Linked DNA regions of Homo sapiens: regions 1, 2 and 3 are each linked to region 4. The links are contacts of gene promoters, found by promoter capture Hi-C in human tissues and cell types (Jung and others, 2019). All regions are on one chromosome and are shown on one strand. The core of a region is centred on a gene start or on the middle of the fragment in contact, and the rest is flanking DNA. Distances in the headings are between cores, read along the strand shown. Region 1 overlaps CACNG2 (calcium voltage-gated channel auxiliary subunit gamma 2). Region 2 has its middle 5.4 kb from the start of IL2RB. Region 3 holds the start of TXN2 (thioredoxin 2). Region 4 holds the start of NCF4 (neutrophil cytosolic factor 4).

Region 1 (6,376 bases), core at 1,958-4,457, 270 kb before region 4:
TTTTAGGAACTTCTGGCTATGATTATATGCTGCATATAATGGAAAAGAGGAATCTCTGTAACTCCCTTTCACACATGAGCTATCCCTGTACCAAATTCACTAACTTTCTTGAGTTCTACAAGAAAAACAATTCCCCAGACCATATCGGGACTTCTGGTCGCTTCACTGAAGCTTGGTAGGGCCACTCAAAATGGTCCCATGGACAGGTGTCTTCTCTGAGTGTTTTGGGTTCCCTGCTTTTTGCTGTCCCCACCCCCATCGTGTCATGGCCCCTCTGCCCTCCTGCATCTTGGGGTGTTAAAAGGAAGCCTTGTCCCCTCCCTAGTACCTTGTTTTCCTAATCCAACCATGCACCCTTCTCTGTGGGAAAAGTCTTCATACCAGCTGCTAAGAGGATAACAAATTCTCCCTATTGTTAAAATTACAAATCAGTGTATTTGAAAAGCACTTCGCAAAGCACTCTCATTTTCTTTCAATTCAATCTGACAAATATTTCAGCAAGCCGGTGCCAGGCATCTTTATAAAGAATCTGTGCAGGAGTGAGGCTCAGAGAGCAGTACTGACATGCCCTGAGGCGTCCCACAAATTGAGGACAGAGCTTCACCCAGCAGGGCCCCAGCTGCATCCTGGTGGGCCACACCCGCTCCTGTTCCCCGCAGGAACAGGAGCTCACATTCTACGGGGAGCCTAGTTGCTCCTTGTGTGCAAGCCTGGGCTTCACTCATCCTTGGACCATTGGCTCCTAGCGCAGTGCCTGGCACAGAAGCAGGGTTCAGGAGATGCTAACAGAGAGGCCGTGCGAGATAATCAGTGGCCCAGACCTCTCCTTGAGGCCTGGACCTGGGTATCCAGCTGCCTATTTGACATCTCCTGGTGGATGTTTTAAAGGCACTGAACATGAACTCCTGATCTTTCCCTCTAGCCTGGCACTCTGGAGGCCCCAGTTAGCTTGGCGAATGCTTCTCCAGGGTTCCCTTGTGTAAGCCTGAGCCTAGTTGTCAGCGCTGACATCTATCTCTTCCTCCTCCCTGCAGGCTCCATCCATCAGGGCGTCCTGTCTGTATTAGATCCTTAGTGTCTCAAACTTGCCTGATGTCTCTGAGACAGCACCGCCCACTACCAGGCCACCATCCCTGCTCCCTGGATGGCTGCCGCGGCCTCCCCACTCATCAGTTTGCACCCACTCTTATCCTTCTCTACAGAGCTATGACAGTGATCCTTTGTACATGCAAATCTGATCATGCCACCTCCAGCTCGGAAACACTCCAGCTTCCCAGTGCTGTCGGGGAAAAGCTCAACATCTCTAACAAAGCCTGACCCCCAACCTCCACATCTGGCCTCACCTCCCACCCACCTCCTCCCTCCCTGTGCATCTCTGCCTTCTTTCCTGCCATGCTCCCTCCTACCTCAGGACCGTGGCACATGCATGCTGGTCCTGCTGCCTGAACTCCCACCACGTCCTCTGTTGCCTCTTTCTCCTAACCTCCTTCTGCCTCCCTGCACTGTGCTACTGGGGTGTCCTCCACTAGCTGGCTAGTGCTGGCTGCTCTATGTTGGGGGGAGATATATTTTTTTTTTTTGAGACGGTGTCTTGCTCTGTCACCCAGGCTGGAGTGCAGTGGCACAATCTCGGCTCACTGCAAGCTCCGCCTCCCGGGTTCACGCCATTCTCCTGCCTCAGCCTCCAGAGTAGCTGGAACTACAGGCGCCCGCCACTACGCCCGGCTAATTTTTTTTTTTGTATTATTTGTAGAGACGGGGTTTCACTGTGGTCTCGATCTCCTGACCTCGTGATCCGCCTGCTTCGGCCTCCCAAAGTGCTGGGATTACAGGCGTGAGCCACCGCGCCCGGCCTAAGGGGGGAGATATTAAAGCCTGTATGATACTAGTGGGAATGTTCTAGTAGAGAGGGAAGAAGGGAGGGGCTGGGGGCAGTGGCTCAGCCTTAGCTTTAGGAAGCTGAGGCAGGAGGATCCCTTGAACCCAGCAGTTCAAGACCAGCCTGGGCAACATAGCAAGACCCTATATCTACAAAAAATAAAAACAAATTAGCCAGATGTGGTGGTATGTGTCTGTGGTCCTAGCTTACTTGGGAGTCTGAGGCAGGAGGATCCCTTGAACCCAGGTGTTCGAGGCTGCAGTGAGCTAGGATAGCACCACTGCACTCCAGTCTGGTGACAGAGCAAGACTCTGTCTTGAAAATAAAATCAAAATAAAAAAGTAAAAGAAAGGAGGACAGAAGGGATGACCTGCAGAGATGGGGGAGCAATACAGGTGCACTGTGCAAGGAGATGAGGCCCAGGACACAGCACAAGGGGGGTGGTGCTGTGCCAGGAGGGACAGCAGAGCTCGTGGGTGCAGTGCTGGGGATGGGCAGACATGGTGGGAGGGTGTAACACTTCTCTTCTGTTGCTTCTATTTTCCCAACGAAATGGGAAGCAGGATCATCAACTGAGAGTGAGGAAGGGTTGGGGACGGGAGGACAGGGGAAGGGAAGCGAGAGTGGGAGACAGTGGACCAGGCTGTGAAGTGTGTGTGTCAGTGGCTTGAAGGTCACTTCTGAGATTCTGTGGTTTTCTCTGGCCACATTTGTGGCATGGGTGCAGTTAGCTGGAGAGTTGCGTCTAACCAGGAGGAGGTTTGTGAGGTGAGTGCAACAGGGAGAGGGTGGAATGGGAGGGATTATGAGGATGGATATGGAGTCTAAGCTGGGTAAACAGGGAAATGAGGTCCTGAAGGGCAAGTGAGGCAGTGCAAAGGCGGGGGTGGGGGGTGGAGCGGGGAGGGCAGTCAATGCTTTTGAGCCTGGGGTTGGGGTGGGGTCAAAGCATTGTTGAAATGGGGGTGCATGGGAGTGAGCTGCAACGGTGGCACGTGGTAGCCAGAGAGTGGGATGCAAAAGACAGAGAGTGGAGGGGGTGTGGATATTGGAAATGCCAAGGGCAAGGGTAAGACCCCGAATGAGGTGGCTTGGGGCAGGCAGAGGTAGGGATGATCTTCAAGTATGCACTGGAAAGGTCACACAAATTAATAGATAAGGCAAAACTACAACATTCGCTGTTGTTTTCTATATACATCGAGTATATATTAAGAAACTGCCTACCCGGTTAAAATTTGAAGTGCAAATGATTCATCAAATTATTCTAATAAGCCCCAAATCACCGATTGGTTTTTAGAAATGAGTGGTGTGATCTTTTGATGATGAGGCTGTTATGAGCTAAATGATGGCTTGACTGGACCATGCTTTGACACAGGAAACCACACCAGATGCTCCCCAAGCTTCCCTGTTAGAGTAAGGGTCATTCCACCTCGGCGAGTGCAGAATCTTCTCCTAAGTTGTCCTCTACGGTTCGACTAGAGGACCTCTCTGTGCCCAGCAGCCCCAGGAGGTCAGGGCCGGGAATGGGAAGGTAGTGGGAGGCTGTGAGAGGGGTAGAGGCTCTCATCGGCAGGGCAGTGGTGTGCGCCCAGCCCAGCCCAGTCCCACCAGTCAGGACCAGTAGGGAGACTCTTCTTCTCTTGCCCCCATCCTTGGGGCGGGCCTTGGAGTTTATAGAACCTGAGAACAGAGCTGAGTCCTTAACCCAGCCTTGGGGAGCGAGGAGAGGAGATGGAGCCTTGGTCCCAGCCCTTCTCTTCTCTCTGCCCCGCCCAATGCAGGAGCCACCCCTTCCCCCAGCCAGCTTCCCTGACATAGTAAGACTGATCGGTACAACAGTATTTCAATATTTAACAACCAGTGAGGCAGCACCGGCACATCAGGTTGGAGTGAAGGGGTCACGGCCAGGGACTGGAGGGGCTGATTTCCTGGTTGTGGAATCTGCAAGGATGATAACGGGAGCAGCATTGGAGGCAAAGGCAGTGAGCCAGCGCTCAGCTCCCCAAAGACTGAATGGCGGCGGCCATGAGGGAGTCGGACAGGTAGGCTGGGATGTGTTTCACAGAGGCAGGGAGTTTAGGGAGGAGGCAGGGAAATGGACCGGAAATGTCGATGAGGCCCAGGGAGGCCTGGGATGTGAGCAGTAAAACACTCTCGACAGTGAGAGTTTGCAGGGGCGGTGGTGTCCTTCGGGGAAAGCCAGATTTCCATTAGAGCAAGGACAGAATGGGGGGATTCTGCTGGCACTGTGACCTAAATTCTAGAAGGTGCCATGGCAAGGATTTAGGAGGGCGGGGGAGTTAGAGATCCAGCCAGATCAGAGGACACACAGCCCTGAGGGACAAGTGATGAGTAGGGAGGAGTGATGGGGTAAACTGGGATACAGGTCACTGTGCGATTGGTCCCAACGCCTCTGGTGGCCATGAGGCTGTGAGGGTCAGCTGGAGGAGCACAGGGTCTCCAGGAGCACTTGGAGCTCGGTGGGCCCTGGATTCAGTCTGATTAATGGTGGTGCTGGGGAGAGGTATAGGAGGGGAGGGGGCACTAGCAGCACTCAAGCATTAGTGGTGAAATTTGAACTTCATAGGACATCTACGTCAACAGACATCACTCCAGTAAGGGGAGAGTGGTGAGTGGTGATGAAATGAATGAGATTTCATTTCCCTAAGGCCAGCCTAGGGTTCCATTGTATTTCCTTCTGGTTGGTGGTAATCCACCCCAGGGGTTGTGATGGCTTCAGGCACAGATGGATCCAGGTGCTCCAAAATCTGGAACCTCTCTCCATCTCTGACTTTCCTCCCAACTAGCTTCATTCCTAGGCACCCTCTGTCCCTGTGGTAGAGACTAAGGGCCAAGTGCCTGGCACTGGGATGGTAGAGGAAAATCTAATCTCATCTCTGCCTTCCAGGCTCACATTCTAGGGGCAAAGACAGATAGTACAGAACTTACTAGAGTGCAATCCTTCACATACTATATTAGAAGGAGGTATGAGGCCTTATGGCAGCACAATTGTTCAGCTATCATTTATGTAGCACCAATTGTATGCCACGCTCCATGCAACCTGCTGAGAACAGAGGGGGAAAAATATACTTTCTGTCCTCAAGGAACTTGCAGTCTATGATGGCAGACAGAAAACACACGCTGTGGTGTAGAGGATGTGTGTGATGACAGAGGAGAGTGGAGCGTGTCTGGGGCACACAGATGGAAGGTGTGTCCAGGCGAGGGAGTGTGTGGGTGACAAAGGCCTCCTGAGGAGGAGCAGGTGCCTGAGCTGACACAAAGTGGAGAAGTCAGCCTGATGAAGCAGGGAGGGGTCCGTGTATGCCCGCGTGTGTGTCTGTGTGTGTGTCTGTGTGTGTGTGCATGTGTGTGTGTCTGTGTGTGCATGGGTGTGTGTGCGTATGTGTGTGCGTGCATGGGTGTGTGTGTCTGTGTGTGTGTCTTGTGTGCATGGATGTGTGTCTGTGTGTGTACATCGGTGTGTGTGTGTGCATGTGTGTGTGTGTGCATGGGTGTTTGTGTGTCTGTGCCTGTGTGTACATGGGTGTGTGTGTGCATGTGTGTGTCTGTGTGTGCATGTGTGTTTGTGTGTGTCTGTGTCTGTATGTGGGTAGTTTTGAATGCCTACTGTGTGCTCACTGGGCAGGGTGAGATGAAGTCTGCATATGTGTGTGTGTGCATGTATGTGTCTGTGTGTGCATGTGTCTTTGTGTGTGTCTCTGTGTGTACATGGGTATGTGAGTCTGTGTGCATGGGTGTGTGTGTGTCTATGTGTGTGCATGTGTCTGTGTGTGTAGGCGTGATGAGGAAGTGGTGGAGGGTTGAGAAGGGCTTTCTAGCAAGAGCAGTCAGGATAGTGCGGGACATAGGAGGGAACACACTGTCCCTGGGGGTGGGAGAAGGTTTCCCAGAGCAGAGTTGGGAGTAACAGGACTTGAGAGAGGGCCCGAAGCCAGCAGTGTGCGGGCCGGCTCGCCCCTGCTCAAGGGAGCTCATCACCAGTGTCTTCCCAGCTCTCGTTAGCAGTTTGAAATCAGCCGTGGTAGGTGTATTCACACCATGGGAACCCACGGCAAATGCTACAAACCAAGTTCCCCACCTCCAGCCCAGGGAGCTGATTGTTAAACATGTACCAGCACACCACTGGATGAAGGGTGATCCTATGTGAGGAGTCAGCTGGTACAAAGACGTGACAAATTGGTGGGATTGGAGATTTGCAAAAGGACTGGTCCCATCAGAGGGCTGGGTGGGTGAGGGTGAGGGTGAGGGTGGGTGATGGCTGGAGTGGAGTGCAGGGGTCTCACTGCCCGCTGTCCCCTCAGGCATTGGCTTTGAGCTTCCAGAGGAAAGGGGATGCAGGGAAGACTCTCCCACCATGAACTATAAAGGGTTATTCAGCTAAGGGGCTCAACAACCATGACTCTCCATGGAACCTCCATCCCAGAAGAGTGGCAGTGCCCCACCAACCGCCAGGCTGAGTGAGTTCAGGCCCCGCTG
Region 2 (6,412 bases), core at 3,913-6,412, 300 kb after region 4:
TGGGTGGTATGGACATTTTAACAATATTGATTCTTCCAATCCATAAACATAGAATATCTTTTTATTTTTTGTGTCCTCTTCAGTTTCTTGCACCAACGTTTTATAGTTTTCATTATAGAGATCTTTCACTTTTTTGGTTACGTTTATTCCTAGGTATTTTATTTTATTTGTAGCTATTCCAAATGGAGTTATTTTCTTGATTTCTTTTTCAGATTGTTTGCTGTTGGTACATAGAAATACTACTAACTTTTGTATGTTGATTTTGTATTCTGCAGCTTAACTGAATTTGTTTATCAGTTCTCATAGTTTTGTGGTGGCGTTTTTAGGCTTTTTGAAATATAAGATAATATCGTCTACAAACAAGGATAATTTGACTTCTTCCTTTCCAATTTGGATGCCCTTTACTTCTTTCTCTTGTCTGTTTGTTCTAGCTAGCACTTCCCAGAGATGACTATCAGGTCTTTGTGAACAATTTGATGGTCACTTACTGAACATTCTAGAACCTTCCTCTTCCTCTCAAGTCATGGTTCCTAACCCTTCTCCCCCTTTTTTGGCGGGGGAGAAGGGTGGCGTGGGAGCTCAGCTCAGGGCTCTTTTTTTTAAATGATGGAAACTTATGGATTGGTCTTTAGAAAAATGCACATCTATTTACGTGCTACATCACAGCCCCATAGACCCTGTGAAGTTCCATCCTCAGAGCCCAGAAGCAGCAGCTCTGCTTCTTCCCTTTCCTGATTCCCTGTTTCAGAGGGGTTTTATTGCAAGCTGTGGCCTCTTTTTTTTTTTTTTTTTTTTTTTGAGACATAGTCTAGCTCTGTCACCCAGGCTGGAGTGCAGTGGCACAATCTCGGCTCACTGCAACCTCTGCCCACAAAGTTCAAGCGATTCTCCTGCCTCGGCTTCCCGAGTAGATGGGATTACAGGCACGTGCTACCATGCCCGGCTAATTTTTGTATTTTCAGTAGAGACGGGGTTTCCCCATGTTGGCCAGGCTGATCTTGAACTCCTGACCTCAGGTGATCCACCTCCCTCGGCCTCCCAAAGTGCTGGGATTACAGGTGTGAGCCACTGCGCCCAGCCTGCCACCTCTTCTGAGAAGAAGAGAGAGAAGAGCAGAGACGGCAGCTCTGCAAATGTGAGAAAAGTGGAATTCAAGACTCCAAAAAGAGAATCAGGCCCAACTCCCATGTGCAAAGCCCGCTGCTGGAAAAGAAGAAGCGTGGAGCACTGCTGCCCAGGAGGGGCAGGACTGGAGATTGAGGCTGTGACTTAGGCCTCCCTGTGCTTCAGTGTGCAGACCTACCAAATGAAGGGAGAACTGGACAAGAAGGTGTGTATAAAGCATTTAATGTGACCACGCACTGCAGGCTTGCTGTAAGGGCCAGTTCCTTCCACACTGCCCTTCCCTCTCCTCTAGAGTAAGGCTGTCTGGCGGCAGGAGAGGATACTAAACACAACAGCCACAACCATGAGAATAACAGCCAACATTTATTAAGCCTCAAATATTCCCAGAAGCTTTGCAAGAAATTAGGAACGCCGGTTGTCTCAGGGAGGAGAGCCAGGTGAGGAAGGGTTAGGAAGGACGCTTTTCTCTATAGACCCTTTTGTATGGCATGAACATATTTCCTGCCCCCAAATAAATGAATTCAGTTAAAACTTTAAAAGCACACACATACAAAGAAAAGAAAAATGCATCCGCAGCCAAAGCCAGAAGTCACAGACCCAGCTTGCAAGGAGCAGCTGCGTACAGCTATTTCATCCATGAGACAGCATCAGTCTGCCTGGCACATACTGCCCAAGACTCTTCTTCCTCCTCATCCTGCTTTCCTTCTTTTATTTATTCAACAAACATTTACTGAGCACCCCAGATGCCCCAAAGACCAGGTCAGACACAGGAAGCCTGAGGCGCGCAGCCCAGGCCAGCGGGGTAGGACCAAGGGAGGGAGGTAGGCCACTCTCCACCCTCGTGCCCCTGAGATGTGCAGCAGCCAGGAAAGTGGGGAGCAGAATGGGGGATGGTGCAGCCCCCACATACAGAGTCTCCCACCCCAGGAGACAGGGGATGGAGCCGGTTTGTTCTTTTGTCAAGGGTCCTAGCCCAGAACACCTCAGATGGAGAGGCAGGGAGGGGGCTACGCAGAGAATGATTCTCCTTCACATCCTCTATGTAACACCTCATGGCCTGTGGGAGCACGTAGGAGGGAAACCTGGTGGAATGGGTCCCCAGGCCATGGCGTGCACCCTCCTCCCGGCATCAGCTCGGGTCTGCTTCCCAGCCTCCCTTGCAGTGAGCTGGGGCTCCAGAACCAAGTCTGGCTAATGGGATGTGGGAGGAAGTGATTTATTCTACTTCTAGGCCTAAAAAAAATCTCACCTATGATCTCCTGTGTCTCTTAATCCCTCTATCTCTCTTTTTTTTTCTTTTTTTTTTTTTGTTTTTTAGACGGAATCTTGCTCTGTAGCCAGGCTGGAGTGCAGTGGCGCGATCTCGGCTCATTGCAAGCTCCGCCTCCCCGGTTCAAACAATTCTCCTGCCTCAGCTTCCCGAGTAGCTGGGATTACAGGCACACACCACCACACCCAGCTAATTTTTGTATTTTCAGTAGAGATGGGGTTTCACCATGTTGGCCAGGACGGTCTCGATCTCCTGACCTCGTGATCTGCCTGCCTTGGCCTCCCTAAGTGCTGGGATTACAGACGTTAGCCACCACGGCCGGCCATCCCTCTATCTCTTTCTCTCTCTCCCCTCCCCTGCCAGAATCCAGTGAAGTTTTGGGTAGAGGGGCTGGAGTCCCTTGAAGGACAGGCCCTCACCCCTCCTCAGACAATTCACACTGGGCTATAACTTGAATGAAAAATAAACCTCTATTGTTGGGCCTCTGAGACCTGGGGACTGCTGTTTCTGTTTTCTCTGACTCATACAGTCTGTCCCCCAGGTGCTACAGCTGAACATAAAACCAGGTGAGGAGGGGTGAGACAGTACGCCAGCAGAAGCCCAGAGGCATGGGTGGCCAGCAGGGGTGTGCAGAGAGGTGCACCTGCTTTCTTCAGCCCCTGCCCTGCTCAGAGCCGTGTCATCTCCCACCTCAGCAGGCCCATGGTGGCCTCCGCCCTGGTCTCCCTGTTTCTATTAATACTCCTGACTCTCTGGTCTGTTCTCCACTCAGCGGCCAGAGCAACCTTTCCCAAACTCAAATCACGTCATTTCACCCCCCAGCCACTCCCCATCATACACACTCAAACCTTCCCAGTGCATTCACAGTAAAATCCAAACTCTCAGTCTTGACCCACATGTCCTACAGGGACTGCCCCATCTTCATCTCTGACCCTGCCTCCTGTGCTTTCTCACTCTGTCAGGGCTTTGTGCATGCTGAGCCTGCTCTTCCCTTGCCATTTTACAGGCCAGGAAACCAGGCCTCATGAGTCATCCTACCAGAATGTGGCAGAGCCAGGATTAGAACCTAGGTCTGTCCCAGAGGACATCCGATTCTCTCTGAGGCAACCTGAGATGTAATCCAGAAGCTTCTCTGATGGCAGAGCCCTGACAGAGCCCACTCGGGCCTACCCAGACCTGGGTCTCAGGAGTGCTGGGGTTTGGACCCAGCCTCCTCCACGAGCTCCACGCCTTGCTCCTATAACTACTTCTCTTACGTCTTCCACATCCCCACCTGACCCTCTGCGCTGCATCTTCATGGGTCCCACTGGGAACAAACCGCCTCATACCCTCTGTTTCCATGCACCCAGTCCCACAGCCCTCCCACCACTGGACCCAGACCCCTCTTTCACAGGGGCCATGGGACAAGGGCATATTGGGGTCTTCCAGCCCTGATGTCCTTGGGCTGTCTTTTTTGGGGCCAAGCCAGACTGCATCCTCCTCAGTCCTGGTATCTGCCAAACGCCCTACCCGTCCTCCCTCTGCTCACTGGAGTGCTTGGCCCTTGCGCTCAGCCTCCCTCTCCACTCCGCCTCCCAGGAGATGTCAGGGTCCACACTGTAGCCTCCAGCCTCCTGTTCCCTCTGAACTGCTCCATACCAGTCCCACACCCAGGCCTGCACTTGCACCCTGCCATCATTCTGACCTGTGTTAACCAAGACCCCTTGAACTTCCACCTCAGCTCACCCGCGTGCTGCCATCACCGCCTCCACTGTACAACAGTGTCCCAGTTAGGATGAAGTTCAGCTGCGTGTGTCCAAAGAGAACAGAAGAAGAAAACAGTGACCTAAAATAAGAGAGGGCTTTATTTCTCTCTTACATAAAAGAAGTCCAAAGGGAGGCCACCCAGGCTAGGTGGGGTGGCTTTATGATGTCAGGATCCTGAGCTAAATCTGGCTTGCTACTAGGGTCTCTTCAATATCCTTCTCCCATCTCCTCATAGACCAAGAGAGCTATTCAAGCTCCACCCATCACCTCTGCGTTCCTGCAGATGGAAGGGAAAGGAAGGAGAGAGGGAGGGCTTGCCTCTGCCTGTTAAGGACCCTTCCCCAAAGCTGCCGTAGCCACTTCTAATGTACATCCCATTGGCTACGCCTGAGTCACATAGCCAACCAAGCTGCAGAGGAGGCTGGGAGATGTAGCCAGCTATAAGTAGAGGGCACACGGGCAGGGGAGAGCAGGTTTGGGGGTGCCATTCACTGTCTCTGCCACCGCCTGTCCTCTGCCATTGTGAAGACCTCCAGTATCTCCAGGGCCACCTCCCTTCCTGCCCTCCCTGGCTCAGCCAGCTGACACTGTCACCCACCCTCAAGTCCTTGTGTTCCGCCCACCCCTGCTCGGTGCTGTGACCTGTCTTCTGGAAAGTCAGCAGGTAGCCGAGTCCCCAGCTGGAAAAAAAGTCCTGCCCCCACAGTGCCAGGCCTCACCAGTGACCTGGTTTTGAGTCCTGGTCCCTGGTCAGGAGGACTATGGTATACATAATTTGGTGTCTGACCCTCCGCCCAGTCCCCATCAGACTGTGGGGTACCCCTCATGACAAATGAGGATCACAAAGCTGCAGGGGCCCACAGAGGGGCCAGAGCAGAACAAGGAGAAAGAGCAGGCTAGCGGCCGACTTCCTGAGGGCTGTCCTCCGAGCATGCCCCTCTGCTGACACCTGCTCTTCACTGGAGGCGCCCCACCCACCAGTCCCCAAGACAGACTGTGGCCATTCTCCCTGACTCCTTCCCTCCCTCACCCCCTCCTTCCAAGCCATCACCCTTACTTCTGCTTTGCCACAGCAGCCACCTCCACGCCAGCCCCCCAGGCTCCAGACCTGAAGCCCCACGTTCTTCCCTGTTCATCCGGGAGCTGCCTGCTTCATAGCCACACCAGCACCAGCGCCCTGAGCAGCTCCTATCTTGTGCAAACCATGCCATTCCTTACCAGGATCGCGCCAAGGTGACCAGCTGTCCCACTGTGCCTGGGACTGAGGGGGGTTTCCAGAACATAAGATTTACAGTGATATTCCTAGGACAAAGTTGGTCACCATATTCCCACCCTACTTACTCAGACTAATCAGCTCCCCGATTTAAAACCAGTCCTTCCCTGATCTCCAATTCTGGCCAAGGCAGATTCTGGGCACAAGCCAGTTACCATATCTCATGTCAGAGCCTTGCTTATGAGTCTACACCAGGAGCTCTTGGACAACAGGAACAGTGTGGGATTCATCCACACCACTCCAGAACCCAGAAAATTACCTGACATACGGACAGTGTCAATATGAGGGGAAGGAAGGAAAAAAGGAAAAGAGAAAGAATCAAAAGTGCTAAGTCCCTAATACCCTGAAGAGTCCTGAGAATACACATTAAAAACACCAGGATAGCATATTTGAAGTTTCAAAAGCTTTGCCATCAAAGGCAGGTTGAAAAGGCGAGTCACCCTGCTGGCGTGGGCTTCAAGCATCTCCCTGGAAGGCAATCTGACATCTACCAACATCTCTGACACATGACCCAGCAATTCCACACCTAAAACTCATCAACAGAGTGACCCATGTTGAACACGTGTGTACAAAGTAACTCCTGCAGTCACGGGACCCGAGGCCAACAAAATGCGCATCCATAGGGGACAGGTGATGAGCAAATTAGGGAACTTCCATCCAGTGGAATGCCACGTAGCTATGCCAAGATAGGAAGGGGAGGGCTGGGCGCGGTGGCTTATGTCTGTAATCCCAGCACTTTGGCAGGCTGAGGCGGGCGGATCACGAGGTCAGGAGATCGAGACCAGCCTGGCCAACATGGCAAAACCACGTCTCTACCAAAAATAAAAATTAAAAAAAAATTAGCCGGGCGTGGTGGTGGGCACCCCGTAGTCCCAGCTATTCAGGAGGCTGAGGCAGAAGAATCACTTGAACCCGGGAGGCAGAGGTTGCAGTGAGCCAAGATTGCGCAACCGCACTCGAGCCTGGGTGACTGAGCAAGACTCCGTCTAAAAAAAATA
Region 3 (6,133 bases), core at 1,687-4,186, 380 kb before region 4:
TGTAATCCTAGCACTCTGGGAGGCCAAGGCGGGAGAGAATCACCTGTGGTCAGGAGTTTGAGAGACTAGCCTGGCCAATATGGTGAAACCCCGTCTCTACTAAAAATACAAAAAAATTATCTGGGTGGTAGTCCCAACTACTTGGGAGGCTGAGGCAGGAAAATTGTTTTAACTCGGGAGGTGGAGGTTGCAGTGAGCTGACTGAACCACTGCAGTCCAGCCTGGGTGACAGAATGAGACTCTGTCTCAAAAACAAAAAAGGAAAAAAAACCCTCAGGCCTGGCGCAGTGGTTCATGCCTGTAATCCTAGCACTTTGGGAGGCCAAGGTGGGAGGATTGCTTGAGATCAGGAGGTAGAGACTGCAGTGAGCCGTGATCGCACCACTGCACTCTACATTCTAGCCTGGGTGACAGAGTGAGACCTTGTCTCTAAAAGAAGAAAAACAAAAACAACTCATAACACTGAAAAACCCAGTGTGCAAGACCTTATCTCCTATTACAAGTGAAGAAAGGGAGCACAAAGATATCAAGTGGCCTGCCCAAGGCCACAGGGTGAGTCAGAGAAACAACTGGAAAGCCAGCGAAACAATCTGTCAGAGACCTGACCAGAAGGCCCTTCAATTTCTTTTTCTTTTTTTTTTTTTTTGAGATGGAGTTTCCCTCTGTCACCCAGGCTGGAGTGCAATGGCGCGATCTCAGCTCACTGCAACCTCCACCTCCCAGGTTCAAGCGATTCTCCTGCCTCAGCCTCTTGGGTAGCTGGGATTACAGGTGCCCGCCACCACGCCCGATTAATTTTTGTATTTTTGGTAGAGATGGGGTTTCACTATGTTGGCTGGGCAGGTCTCAAACTCCTGACCTCAGGTAATCCACCTGCCTCGGCCTCTGAAAGTGCTGGGATTACAGGTGTGAGCCACTGCGTCCGACCTGAAGGCCCCTGAATTTTTAACTTATGCTACACTGGTTTCTCCCAGGATGCCTCATTCAGAGGGCTTTGTCCAGCTTTTGTGTAGTTGGGTGTCTAGCCAGGCCCCAAAGATCTAGAAATGAAAAAGCCCAGGCTAAAATTCAGAAGGCCAGAGGGACTTAAATATCTCTAAAGCAAACTCAGATAGCACTGAAAGGAAACTCCTTCCTATGCCCTGTATGCTTGGGCACCACGGTAGTGACACCGATAACTTTTTTTTTTTTTTTTTGAGATGGAATTTCACTCTTTTTGCCCAGGCTGGAGTGTAATGGCGCGATCTTCAGCTCACTACAAACACTACCTCTTAGGTTCAAGTGATTCTCCTGCCTCAGCCTCCCGAGTAGCTGGGATTACAGGCACACACCACCACGCCTAGCTAATTTTGTATTTTTAATAGAGACAGGGTATCACCATGTTGGCCAGGCTGGTCTTGAACTCCTGACCTCAGGTGATCTGCCCGCCTTGGCCTCCCAAAGTGCTGGGATTACAGGCATGAGCCACCGCACCCGGCCGACACTGATAACTTTTTGCCAGCCCTTCTTGCGGTTTTCATGGCAGGATGTTAACATCAGCTTATCTGCAGGGCCAGGAACTGGTATACACCAAAAGCAAGGTGACAGTCATATTTTTCCAACTCTGGTCCATGCTAAAGATGACGCTGAGCTTTCTGGGGATTGAGAAACAGAACATGTGTTTCCCAGCACTAACAGTCAGCTTTGCAGACTGTTCACTTGTCTGTCTTCCACCAGACTGCATTCCCCTTGAGGGCAGGGACTGGGCCTGACCAGTCTGTATATTGAGTCTACATATGAGCAGCATAGAACATGGCCGTGGGACACAGCAGGCATTCAATAAATACTTGAACAAGTAGGACCCTAGTCTTCTGTGGACCCCCAATACTCACTGTGCGTGGAAATCCACAACCACTGGTGTCTCACTGTTGACCACTCGGTCTTGAAAGTCAGGTCCATCCTGGATATTAAAGGTTGTCAAGGAGATCCTCGTGGTGTATATTGTCCGGGCTGGGTTGGGTGTTACAGTCAGGCCACCAGGACTGCATTGTGGGGTCTGCAGGGCTCTGGAAGTGAGGGGTGGCCACTGACCCTGAGAGGGCTTCCTGGAGATGACAGAGGCCAGGAACCTCCTCAGAAGAAGTCGCTGAGCCATCTGTGAGGGAAAGAGGCAGAAGAACTGGGGCACACAAAAGGAAGTCGACACACTAGAAAAAGATTTGGGGAGTACTCAGGGCTCAGGAAGAGGCAGAGTTGGAAGCAAAATGCAAGGAAATCATATGTAAGATTTGTAGCGTGGAAGTGAGGAAGCAATGAGAATCAAAGGGAAGGAACAGCTAGGCAAACCAGAAGGACAGGAAAACTGGCTTCACAACCAAAAAGAAATCGGGATTTAGATTATAACGGAAGAATGGGAGGAAGAAACCAACAGATTTAATAATGTATGTAAGGACCAAGTACCTTACACACATTATTGGTCTTCCTACAGCAACTTCCAGGAAGTTGCTATTGTACTGCCCACACTGCGAGTAAGGGAAGGAATACGAGGCTCAAGTAAGTTAAGTGACATGCCCAAAGTAACCCCGCTATTAAATGACAGCCAACACTGGAACCCAGGGTCGTCTGAAAAGATGAAACGCAACAATTCAAGGAGGAACTAAGAGTGTGAGAGGAACCAAAAACGAAGAGACATGTACTGGAGGGAACCAATAAAGAAGGGACATGTGTGGAGGGAACTGGGAAAAATCGGACATCACCAGGGACCCTGGCTCTCCGGCGAGCTAGATCCCCCCGCCCGCCCGGCCGCCAGCCTGCGCAGGAACGCGCTCGCGGCATGCCTCAGCCGCGACACCACCTCGAGCCACCCCCACAGGGCTCCTACCTCCCTGCAATGCGAGCGGAGGGATGCACAGCCTAGCCCTCCCTGCCTGTCAAGGGCACGCCTGTCGTCACTTCCTCGGGGGGGGACGTACATAACGTCACTTCCGGGTACAGGCAGGCGGAAGAGCGTCCCTCTCCAATTTTTTTTTTTTTTTTTTTTTTTTTTGAGCCAGAGTCTCGCTCTGTTGCCAGGCTGGGGTGCAGTGGCGCGATCTCGGCTCACTGCAACCTCCGCCTTCCGGGTTCAAGCGATTCTCCTGCCTCAGCCTCCCGACTAGAGGCGCGCGCCACCACGCCCAGCTAATTTTTTTATTTTTAGTAGAGACGGGGTTTCACCACGTTGGCCAGGACGGTCTCGATCTTTTGACCTCGTGATCCGCCCGCCTCGGCTTCTCAGAGGGTTGTGATTACGGGCGTGAGCCACAGCGCCCATCTGTCCCTCTCCAATTTGAGGGGCGTCTGGGATTTTCCGCCAATGGGAATGGCGGGCTGAGGCACAGTTGAAGGGGCGGGGCCTCAGCTACGGACCGGAAGCAATGGGCAGGCCGTCGGGGAACGGATTGGAAGAGGCGGGCGGGCCCTGGTCTGGGCGAAGGCGGGGGCGGGGCGGGGCGGAAACGGAAGGGGTGGGCGGGCCCTAGAGGAGGGACCGGAAGAGGAGGTGATGGAGCAGGGGTAGCAATGGAGGGTACTTAAGGGAGAAAAGGCAGTTGAGAAGTCCCCGTGGTTTTGGATTTTGCAAACTCTTGTTGCTTTATTTTATTTACATATATTTATTTATTAATGACAGAGTCTCGCTCTGTCTCCCAGGCTACAGTGCAGTGGCGTGATCTCCGCTCACTGCAACATCCAAATCCCGGGTTCAAGTGATTTTCCTGCCTCAGCCTCCCAGGTAGCTGGGATTACAGGCGCGCGCCACCACGCCGGGCTGATTTTTGTATTTTTAGTAGAGACGGAGTTTCGCCATGTTGGCCAGGCTGGTCTGGAACTCCTGAGCTCAAGTGATCCGCCCGCTTCAGCCTCCCAAAGTGCTGGGATTACAGGCGTGAGCCACCTTGCCTGGCCTCCTGTTTATAACTGGCGCTGTCCACTTCCTACAGATGTTGACAGGTTCTGTTTCTCCATTTAATATGTAAAGCTAAGCTCCTCAAAGGCATGATGCCCTTTATATGTAAAAGAACTCAACCGGGAGTTTAGGGGCCATCCTTTAAGTGGCCCTCGTCTGTGTCCGCCTAAAGGAAAACAAATGAAAACTGAGGCGAGCCTAATTTAAGCAGGGAGTTTTTTTGGGTCAAGTTCGAAGACTGCAACTCGGAGCAGAGATTCAAGTTGTCCTGAATATACACTCGGATTAGCAGCAGCTGAAAGAGCGTTTTTAAAAGAACAGGCAGTTTCCAAATTGTTGATCAAAGTTTTTTTTTTTTTTTTTTTTTTTTTTGAGACAGAGTCTCGCTCTTGTTGCCCAGGCTGGAGTGCAGTGGCGCGATCTCGGCTCACTGCAACCTCTGCCTCCTGGGTTCAAGGGATTCTTCTCCCTCTGCCTCCCCAGTAGCTGGGACTACAGGCGTGCCTCACCACGCCTAGCTAATTTTTATATTTTTAGTAGAGACGGAGTTTCACCATGTTGGCTAGGATGGTCTCGATCTATTGACCTCATGATCTGCCCACCTGGGCCTCCCAAAGTGCTGGAATTACAGGCGTGAGCCACTGCACCCAGCCTTTTTTTTTTTTTTTTTGAGACGGAGTCTTGCTCTGTAGCTAGGCTGGAGTGCAGTGGCATGATCTTGGCTCACCGCAACCTCCACCTCCAGGGTTCAAGGGATTCTCCTGCCTCAGCCCCCCAAGTACTTGGGATTACAGGCGAGCACCACCACACCTGGCTAATTTTTTATATTTTTGGTACAGAAATTTTATATTTCACCATGTTGGCCAGGCTGGTCTCGAACTCCTGACCTTAAGTTATCGCTCGCCTCGGCTTCCCAAAGTGCTGGGATAACAGGCGTGAGCCACCGCGCCTGGCCGCCCTGCCCATTTTTGTATCGGTTTTCTGTGTCTCTAGCACTTTCTTTTCCACAGCCACCTATCAATCCTATTCAGCACTTCCACAGTATTTTCTAGAGAGCCAATTTTCCTGCCTAATTCACATTCTGAATTTCACAGGCGGACCAGTCCTGTTTGTCCTTATGCCATAGTCACTTCACCCTGATCGGCCTCAGGCTTCTCATCTGAGCAATGGGAAGAATGCCTTTCTCATAGCTGGGCTGAGGGTTGCAGTAGAGACAGAATCCACATCATTGCTGCCTGATGACTCCTGCAGGGAAAGCCTGAGAGACACAGAGAAGGCTGAGCTCTCGGCGCGCTACAAAAGGGCTCTCAGCTACATGGTGGCTCCTCTGTCCAGCTAGAGCTGAGCTGGCCTGGGTCTGGCTTAGTCACAAGCAGGCTCAGGGCACAGCTGAGAGGCAAAGGGAAGGAAGCCAGGACTGGCAGCCTGGGCTAAGGGTAAAACTTCTACCTCCTACCAATATTTATTGCAGTGTTTTTCAAACTGCAGGATATGGACGTCAGTGGGTTTGCAAAATTAATTTAGTGGGTGGTGATCTGCTTTTTAAAAAAACAAACATGGTGCCAGGCGTGGTGGCTCACACCTGTAATCCCAGCACTTTGGGAGGCCAAGGCGGGCAGTTCACTTGAGGTCAGGAGTTCGAGACCAGCCTGGCCAACATGGTGAAACCCCATCTCTACTAAAAATACAAAAATTAGCCAAGCGTGGTGGTACACGCCTGTAGCCCCAGCTACTCGGGAGGCTGGGCAGGAGAATGGCGTGAACCCGGGAGGCGGAGCTTGCAGTGAGCCGAGATAGTGCCACTGCACTCTGGCCTGGGCGAAAGAGCAAGACTCTGTCTCAAAAAAAAAAAAAAAAAAAATAGCTCTAAGGTCTTGCACTAACCGGTATGACCTGTCTGGCGTCTTTACAGGCAGTATTGGAATGTTATAGGGAGACATACAGGGTTTAAGAAATCCATCACGGAGAAGACCTTCAATTATCAATTATAGGTTTTAAATTTACCTCGGCTTTGAAAGGAATAGGATACATTGCTTTCTCTTTACTACTTCCCCAGGGGTTTGTAATTTAACATGAAACTGAGTAATCTGTAACTTTCCTCGATTCTCGTCTTTTGACCATACCTTGGGATGAATGAGTTCTTTGTCTGTGGTGGGGAGCAAGTTTAGGGAGGGGAGGAATCTTCCCTGATTAATATAGAGGCCTAAG
Region 4 (6,306 bases), core at 3,807-6,306:
GGAGTGAATAAATGAATGAATGAGGGCCAGTACAGCAGTTATTAAGTGTGGGTCTTGAAGCCAGACTGATGTGAGGTCCAAATCTTACTCTGCCGGTCATTAAGCAAGCCGCTTTGGTTTATTTTCCTAATCCCGTAAAGCCTGGGTTTCCTTATCTCCCGGTGGGGATAAGAATACCACTATTTTATGGGGGTTGGTGTGAGGATTAGGTAACAACAATCAGAGCCAACATGGACCAAGCCAGGCTGTGGGCCAGGCACTGTACTAAGGGCTTTGCAAATGCTAGCTCTCGTGCTCCTCCTGGCAATTTCACGGTGTAGGGGTGGTTACACAGTCAACTCTCAGAGTGACTTGGCTGTTACCGTATTTATGATGGTGGAGAGGAGATTCAGGATTCTTAGCCCCTGGGGGAAGCTTCCCCTGAGTGCAGCTCAGATTCTGGCTGATAGGGCTGTCTGGAGAGGTTGTCTGAGCCAGCAGGCTGCGCGCTCTGCCTGGCCAGCTGCAACTTGACTCTCGACTTGGCCGGGTCCTTCTAGTGCGGCTTATAGCATTCAACCTCCTCTAGGTGGCGCTGCGGAGCGGGGACTCGGCTGCTGATCGCGGCGCCCCCTGGCGGTCTGTTCCCGTCAACATTTAGATTAAGCGCAGAGCCGGTTCCGCCAGGGAAGTGCGCGTCCCGGTGCCCCCGCGTGATGAGAGCGGATGACAGATTGCGGGAAAAAGTTAGAATGTAACGTTAGTTGTATGACAGAGAGGACCAAGCTGTGCAGCAGAGGGAGACAGAAAAGGGAGGGACCAAGCCACAGCAAGGAATGATCGTCAATAACATTAACGTCTAGAATTTATTGACCACCTGCTATGCGCGAGCCACTGTCCTAAACATCTGGTATTCATTCCCTTAGTTAACACACCTCTAGTAAGTGCGTGTCTCAAGAACAGTGTCTGTGTTTCATTTAGGGCCTAGCACACAGTGGGTGTCTGGCACATAGTAGGTTCTCAACACATTTGGAAATGAATAATACAATAATCCTGCAATTTTTCTCTCCAATTAATAATGTAGAGGCAAATATTATCTCCATTTAGAAAACTGAACAATGGTCGGAGAGTTTGCACAACTAATGCGTGACACAGCGAGGGCACACGAGGTTTAGACCCAGCTCAGCCGTGTGCCAGGGCTTCTCAGAGAAGAGAAGACCCTCTGCCTTCAGGGAGTTTGCTGTCTAATTGGCCACGTCTACACCCTCCCTGCCTGGGTGGCATGCCAGGGATGGCTATTTATGGCTCAGGGAGGAGGTCCAGTGAAGTTCCCCTCATAAATTATAAAGGGAGACACATGTGGGTCAAGATTGGGGAATTCAGTGTGTGAGGGATCCCCAGGAATCTTACACTGTCCAATCAGGGATTTTCCTTCTCTTACCCTGGAGAGTGGCTGATGTAGGCAGTGGGGATTTGCTGAGTACCTATAATGAGCTCTCAAGGGTATCTCCTGGTCCTGTAGAAGAGGCTCACCTCCTCCCTATCACAGAGTTCCAGTTCCTATGGCTGGAGCTCTCAGCCCCAGCCGCTGGCTGCTCAAAGGAGAGTTTCCTCATGTCCAAAATGGGGGCTATGGTTTATCTTGTATACCCCAGCACCTGCATGAGGAAGGACTGAAAAGTGCTGTGCACTTTTGTGATTCGCACATCCAGTCCCCATTCAGGCTCTGGGGATCCCCCAGGCATGGTCTTGGTGTATTAGACTTTTTCCTGGAGATGTGATTATGAATGGGCATTAGTAAGTGGTGTTATGCAGAGATGCCCTTCTCTGAATGGCCTCTGGTATTTGTTTTTTGAGTTCTTGAGAACATATATATTTTTTGGTATTCCATGGTCTTTATCATTGTCAGGCTGTCACTGAACTGTCGCTTGCATTTGGCTGCCCCTGGTAATTTTCTTCCTTCCCCTAACTCACTGCTTCAAGTTCTTGAGTTGGCAGGAAGAGAGGACCAGGCTCCTTTTATATTTCTTCTGTGAATAAAATATGCCAGTGTCAATGCATAGACTTTGAGCTATCAATTCTAACCATTCAATGGCTTTTCTCTTTTTTTGGTTTATTCACAGGCTGTGGGATGTGGAGGTTATCAAAAATCAGGTCTCCATAAGTGAGAGGTCACTTCAGGCATTTCTTTGCACTTATCCAAAAAAGATTCCATCCATACTTGTTTAATGGAACGTGTGAAGAGCTTGGCTCCTCTTCCAGGTCATCCCTCTGCCTCATTCTCCCCCTGCAGCAGGAGCAGCAAGAGCCCGGTTCTGGAGTGGGAGTAGAAGGTACAGGCATTGCTGCAGCGGCAGGACAGGAGCCCATTGCTGACAGAGTGCCTGGCCTCAAATTACACTGTATCAGAGCTCGGGCATAAAATTGGCAGCAGCGTTCTGTGTATGAGGAGACAGAGAAATACCTGTATTCAGCAGAACCACGGGCAGGGACAGAAGAAAAGGAGAGAAAGAGGGGAGGAGGGGAAGAGCTGGCCCGTCGCGGGCTCTTCCCTGGACATCTTTGTCCCCCAGGTGCAGAGGTGGCTTCCCAGTGGCTGAGTCAGGGCCACAGGAGGTTTCTTGGGGGGTTGGGGGGGCCGGGGTTTGGAGGGCAAGCCATGAAAATACCTGGGAAGGTAAACTTGAGGGCTTAACCCACCTGAAACACACACATACAGATATACACACTGAAAACGATTAAAAAAGGAATAAGAAATGTCCATGTGTCTAGGCACTTTTATACAGTTTTCTATTAATTCCTACTACAACTCCATTAGGCAAGACTGTTTCACAGATTGGTGAAGAAGAAAGGTTCAAAAAGGACATGTTATCTTGCCTGAGTTCACCTATTATAAATGTACTTGTGTTTATACTCATTTGTCACCGACTGCAACCTAAACATCTAAACACATTCTCTCACAGCCACAATGCCACCACTATACACATTATATGGTCTTTTATAGACACAACACAAATGCACTTACACTTGCCTATGCGAGCTGTATGTGTTTATACACAAATATGTGTTTCCAACTATAGGCATATACTACACACACAGTTTACACAATCACCTACAAATTCTGTATCATGCTTGCTTGCTAAAATTGTTTTGCCACTTCCTGTCCTTCCTGACCAACTGTAGGCCAATGTCCTCCTCTTCCCTCAGTTATGGCTGTGTGCTTGCACCTGTTGGTACTTACAGACACCTGCACTAATAACCCTGCTCTGTGTTTCATTTCATCCTCTAGCCTGGGAGCCCCGAGACACCAGCAACTCATCAGACTTATTGTTTGTATTATTTCTAGTTCTTTGGGTGTGAATTCTTCATGATGTGGAGGCTCTGAGCTGTCTTTCACAGCTCACGATTTGTAGTTTTGGTCTGTGAGTTGACAGAGTAGGCCCTGCAGAGTCACTGACTCCAAGCTGTTTTTATATAATGCCTCAGCTTAGGATTTCTGCACCACGTGGGTAGCTTATATCGGGGCCTTACACCAGTGCAGAGGGCAGGCTTGAGGCTGATCTGGTACACACGTCCCTTGTTCCACCCATGGACTGTGAGAGGACCTCAGCTCCTGCCGTGACTCTAGGCTGATGGCTGAGAAACTCTGTTCCCATAATCAGTTCTGACACCCACTTTACACTGAGAACTCAGATTTGACTTTCTGCTAACAGCAGGACCTGTGGCCTGTACCTAGTCCCAGATTTGGCATTAAAATCTCAGCCCAACAATGCATATCCAATCTTGGTTTTCCCATGGGCTGTTGGCCACGTTCCTCTCCCCCTGGTATAGATTCCTGACCCCTCTCTTTGATCCTACCTAAAAATTATGCTTTCTTGTTTTTTTTAGCTGGGACTTGTATGTTTAAAGTAGTTTAAAACAACTTTCTGCTCTGCATGTATGAATACGAGTGTGTGAGCGTGTGTAGCTGGCAGGGAGTTACTGGGTGTGGCTGTGCCAATGACTCCTGTGGACCTCTTCTCAGAGAAGTCCCTTCAGAATCAAATACCCATACCTGTTAGGAGCTGCAGTCACTGACTGGCAGCGTTTCATTCATTCACTGAATATTGGTTGAGCACTTGCAATGTGCCAGGCACGCTGCTAGCCAAGGAGGCAGTCATTAAACATACAGATAAACAAACAAATGTGAGATGACAATAGTTATGAGTGCTCTGCAGTAGACGTGCAGGGACCTGTGAGAGAATGTAGTAGGGAGGGCCTTAATTTAGGGTGTGTGGTCAGGGAAGGCCTCGCTAAAGATGTAGCTTCTAAGCTGAGATGCAAAGGAGGCAGTGAAGAGCTTTTTCCAGCAGAGGGAACACCATGAGCATAGGCCTTGGGGCGGACGTCTTAGAACATTCTAGAAACGGAAAGGAGGCCAGTGAGAAAAAGGGAGCTCAGGAGCAGAGGCTGGGGAAGGCTGCAGGGCCTCAGGGGCATTGGAGGCAGGCAGGGCAAGGACTCTGGACTTTATCCTGAGCACAGGGTGATGGGGCAGGAGAGTTTAAGCAGGGAGGGTGAAACTCACTCTGATTGGCAGCCCTGTGAAAGAGGATTGGCTGGGCATGGAGATCTAAGGATGAGGAAAGGATATCCCAGAGTGCCAGGGCGCGCAAACCAAACTTCACACTCTAGGAAGACAGAGGCCAGAGGAACCAGGAGGGCTTCCTGGAGGAGGTGGCATTTACTCTGGGCCTAAGAGATCACAGGAAAATGGAGGCCAGCATTCTAGGCCTGGGGAAGAGTTTGGGCAAAGGCTTGGCAGTAAGAGAATAAAGGTGGGGCTTGATGGGCCAGAGGATAAGTGACTCCTCAAGGTCACAAGACACCCTGATGGCTGGGACCCCATCTCTGATGGAGCAAGGCTTCTGATACCCAACTGAGGCTTGGCGCCAAGGACTGACATCAAGGAAGTGGATTCCTGCAAACCTGGCACCCGAGGGTCCACTTCCTCAATTTCTGTGCAGCTGGGAGGTGAGGTAAGAGGAAGTGTGGGCCACAGGCTAGGCCCAGAGAGCCTGGAGGAGGAGCCTCTGCCAGACTGGAGAGAAGCAGGCCTGAGCCTCCCCAAAGGCAGCTCCTGGGGACTCCCAGGACCACAGGCTGAGACGAGACGCAGGGTGGCTGGAGGAAGTGAGAGGTGAACTCAGCCTGGGACTGGCTGGGCGAGACTCTCCACCTGCTCCCTGGGACCATCGCCCACCATGGCTGTGGCCCAGCAGCTGCGGGCCGAGAGGTGAGTGCCGGGGTGTGGCCGCCCCCGGGCCTTCTCACTGCTCCTCATAGGCCTTAGGGACAAAGGCCAGTCCTTCTGCAGTCCCTGATCAACATGAGAGGCTGGGGTTGAGTCAGAACCCAAATACTCAGAAATGCAACCTCTCAGAACTGCTTTAACGAAACTTTGAGCTGTGGCTCACCACCCTCAGACACAAATGAGAACACTGAGGCTCCAAGAGTGGGAGTGACTTGCCCACGGTCACACAACGAGTGACCGGCAGTGTCTGGAGAGGAATGCAGGTGTCCTGGGTCCCAGGCTGGGGCCCTTTGCTTCACATGGTGATCAGCAATGACTTTCCATCTTCTGCGCAAACAGAATTCACAGAATCTGGCTTGTTCTTCCGCTAATCAGGGCTTGCCTCAAATGTCACCTCCTCCAAGAAGCCTTCCTGACAGCCCCTACCTCATTGCTGTCTGACCCTTTGCCCTATTTCCCTTTTCTGCCTGGTTCTTATATTACAGGAATAATATTATATGCTCATTTATTATTTTTTCTTGAACGTTGGCTCCCCCATGAGAAGCAAGCTCCACGAGGCTGTGTCCGTTTTGATCGCTGCTGTATCACTAGGAGGTAGCTCATCCCTATTGAGCACCAGGACCAAGGGCTCAATAAATGTTGCTGAATGAATGAATAAATGAATGAATGAATGGGTGGATCTTTGAGACGGAAAAGGTCTTAGATTCTTCTAGTCCAACCTTGCCATTGTACAGATTGGAAATCTGAGGCCCAGGGAGGATAAGAGACTTACTCAGGGTCACAGAGAGTGACTGGCAAGGTTGGGGCTTGGAGCACGGCCTCACCAGCATCTAGCCTCGTCGCTTGGGAAGCATTTTCAGAATTTTTCCTCAGTAGCCAGGTCTGAGCTCTAAGCTGCGGGGGCCCTGAGGACGCAAAGCCTGGCCCCTGCACCCCCTGGATTGGAACAGCAGGTGACCTCTGTTACCTACGTGGAGGCCACTCAGGGGGTCACCAGAGACAGGCCAGGCTGGTGTGTGCCTACGCGGGGAACA

What was found. The method cuts DNA at HindIII sites, captures the fragments that hold promoters and counts their contacts. A contact is called where the count stands out against the background at its distance.
Region 1: a fragment that was not itself captured here is called in contact with the fragment with the promoter of NCF4 in region 4 in 2 of the 25 tissues and cell types used here (bladder and thymus).
Region 2: a contact is called between a fragment that was not itself captured here and the fragment with the promoter of NCF4 in region 4, in 3 of the 25 tissues and cell types used here (dorsolateral prefrontal cortex, lymphoblastoid cells and spleen).
Region 3: the fragment with the promoter of TXN2 here is called in contact with the fragment with the promoter of NCF4 in region 4 in 1 of the 25 tissues and cell types used here (thymus).

What each region holds. Positions count from the first base shown.
Region 1 is chr22:36,589,475-36,595,850 of GRCh38, forward strand. The region is part of intron 1 of CACNG2 (calcium voltage-gated channel auxiliary subunit gamma 2); the gene reads right to left. Among named protein-coding and RNA genes, the nearest start is that of EIF3D, 63 kb to the left of the region's middle. The HindIII fragment of the contact is 7,923 bases long and covers 1-6,376 here.
Region 2 is chr22:37,152,155-37,158,566 of GRCh38, forward strand. It overlaps a transcript of IL2RB not described here. Among named protein-coding and RNA genes, the nearest start is that of IL2RB, 5.4 kb to the left of the region's middle. The HindIII fragment of the contact is 5,288 bases long and covers 2,519-6,412 here.
Region 3 is chr22:36,478,704-36,484,836 of GRCh38, forward strand. TXN2 (thioredoxin 2) reads right to left here and starts at 2,937. Exons shown (of 4, transcript NM_012473.4): 1 at 2,861-2,937; 2 at 1,872-2,134. The coding sequence starts at 2,134. RefSeq lists an enhancer at 3,367-4,313. The HindIII fragment of the contact is 22,621 bases long and covers 1-6,133 here.
Region 4 is chr22:36,855,950-36,862,255 of GRCh38, forward strand. It overlaps NCF4 (neutrophil cytosolic factor 4), which reads left to right and starts at 5,057. Exons shown (of 10, transcript NM_000631.5): 1 at 5,057-5,254. The coding sequence starts at 5,223. The region is part of intron 1 of NCF4-AS1 (NCF4 antisense RNA 1); the gene reads right to left. The HindIII fragment of the contact is 13,239 bases long and covers 1-6,306 here.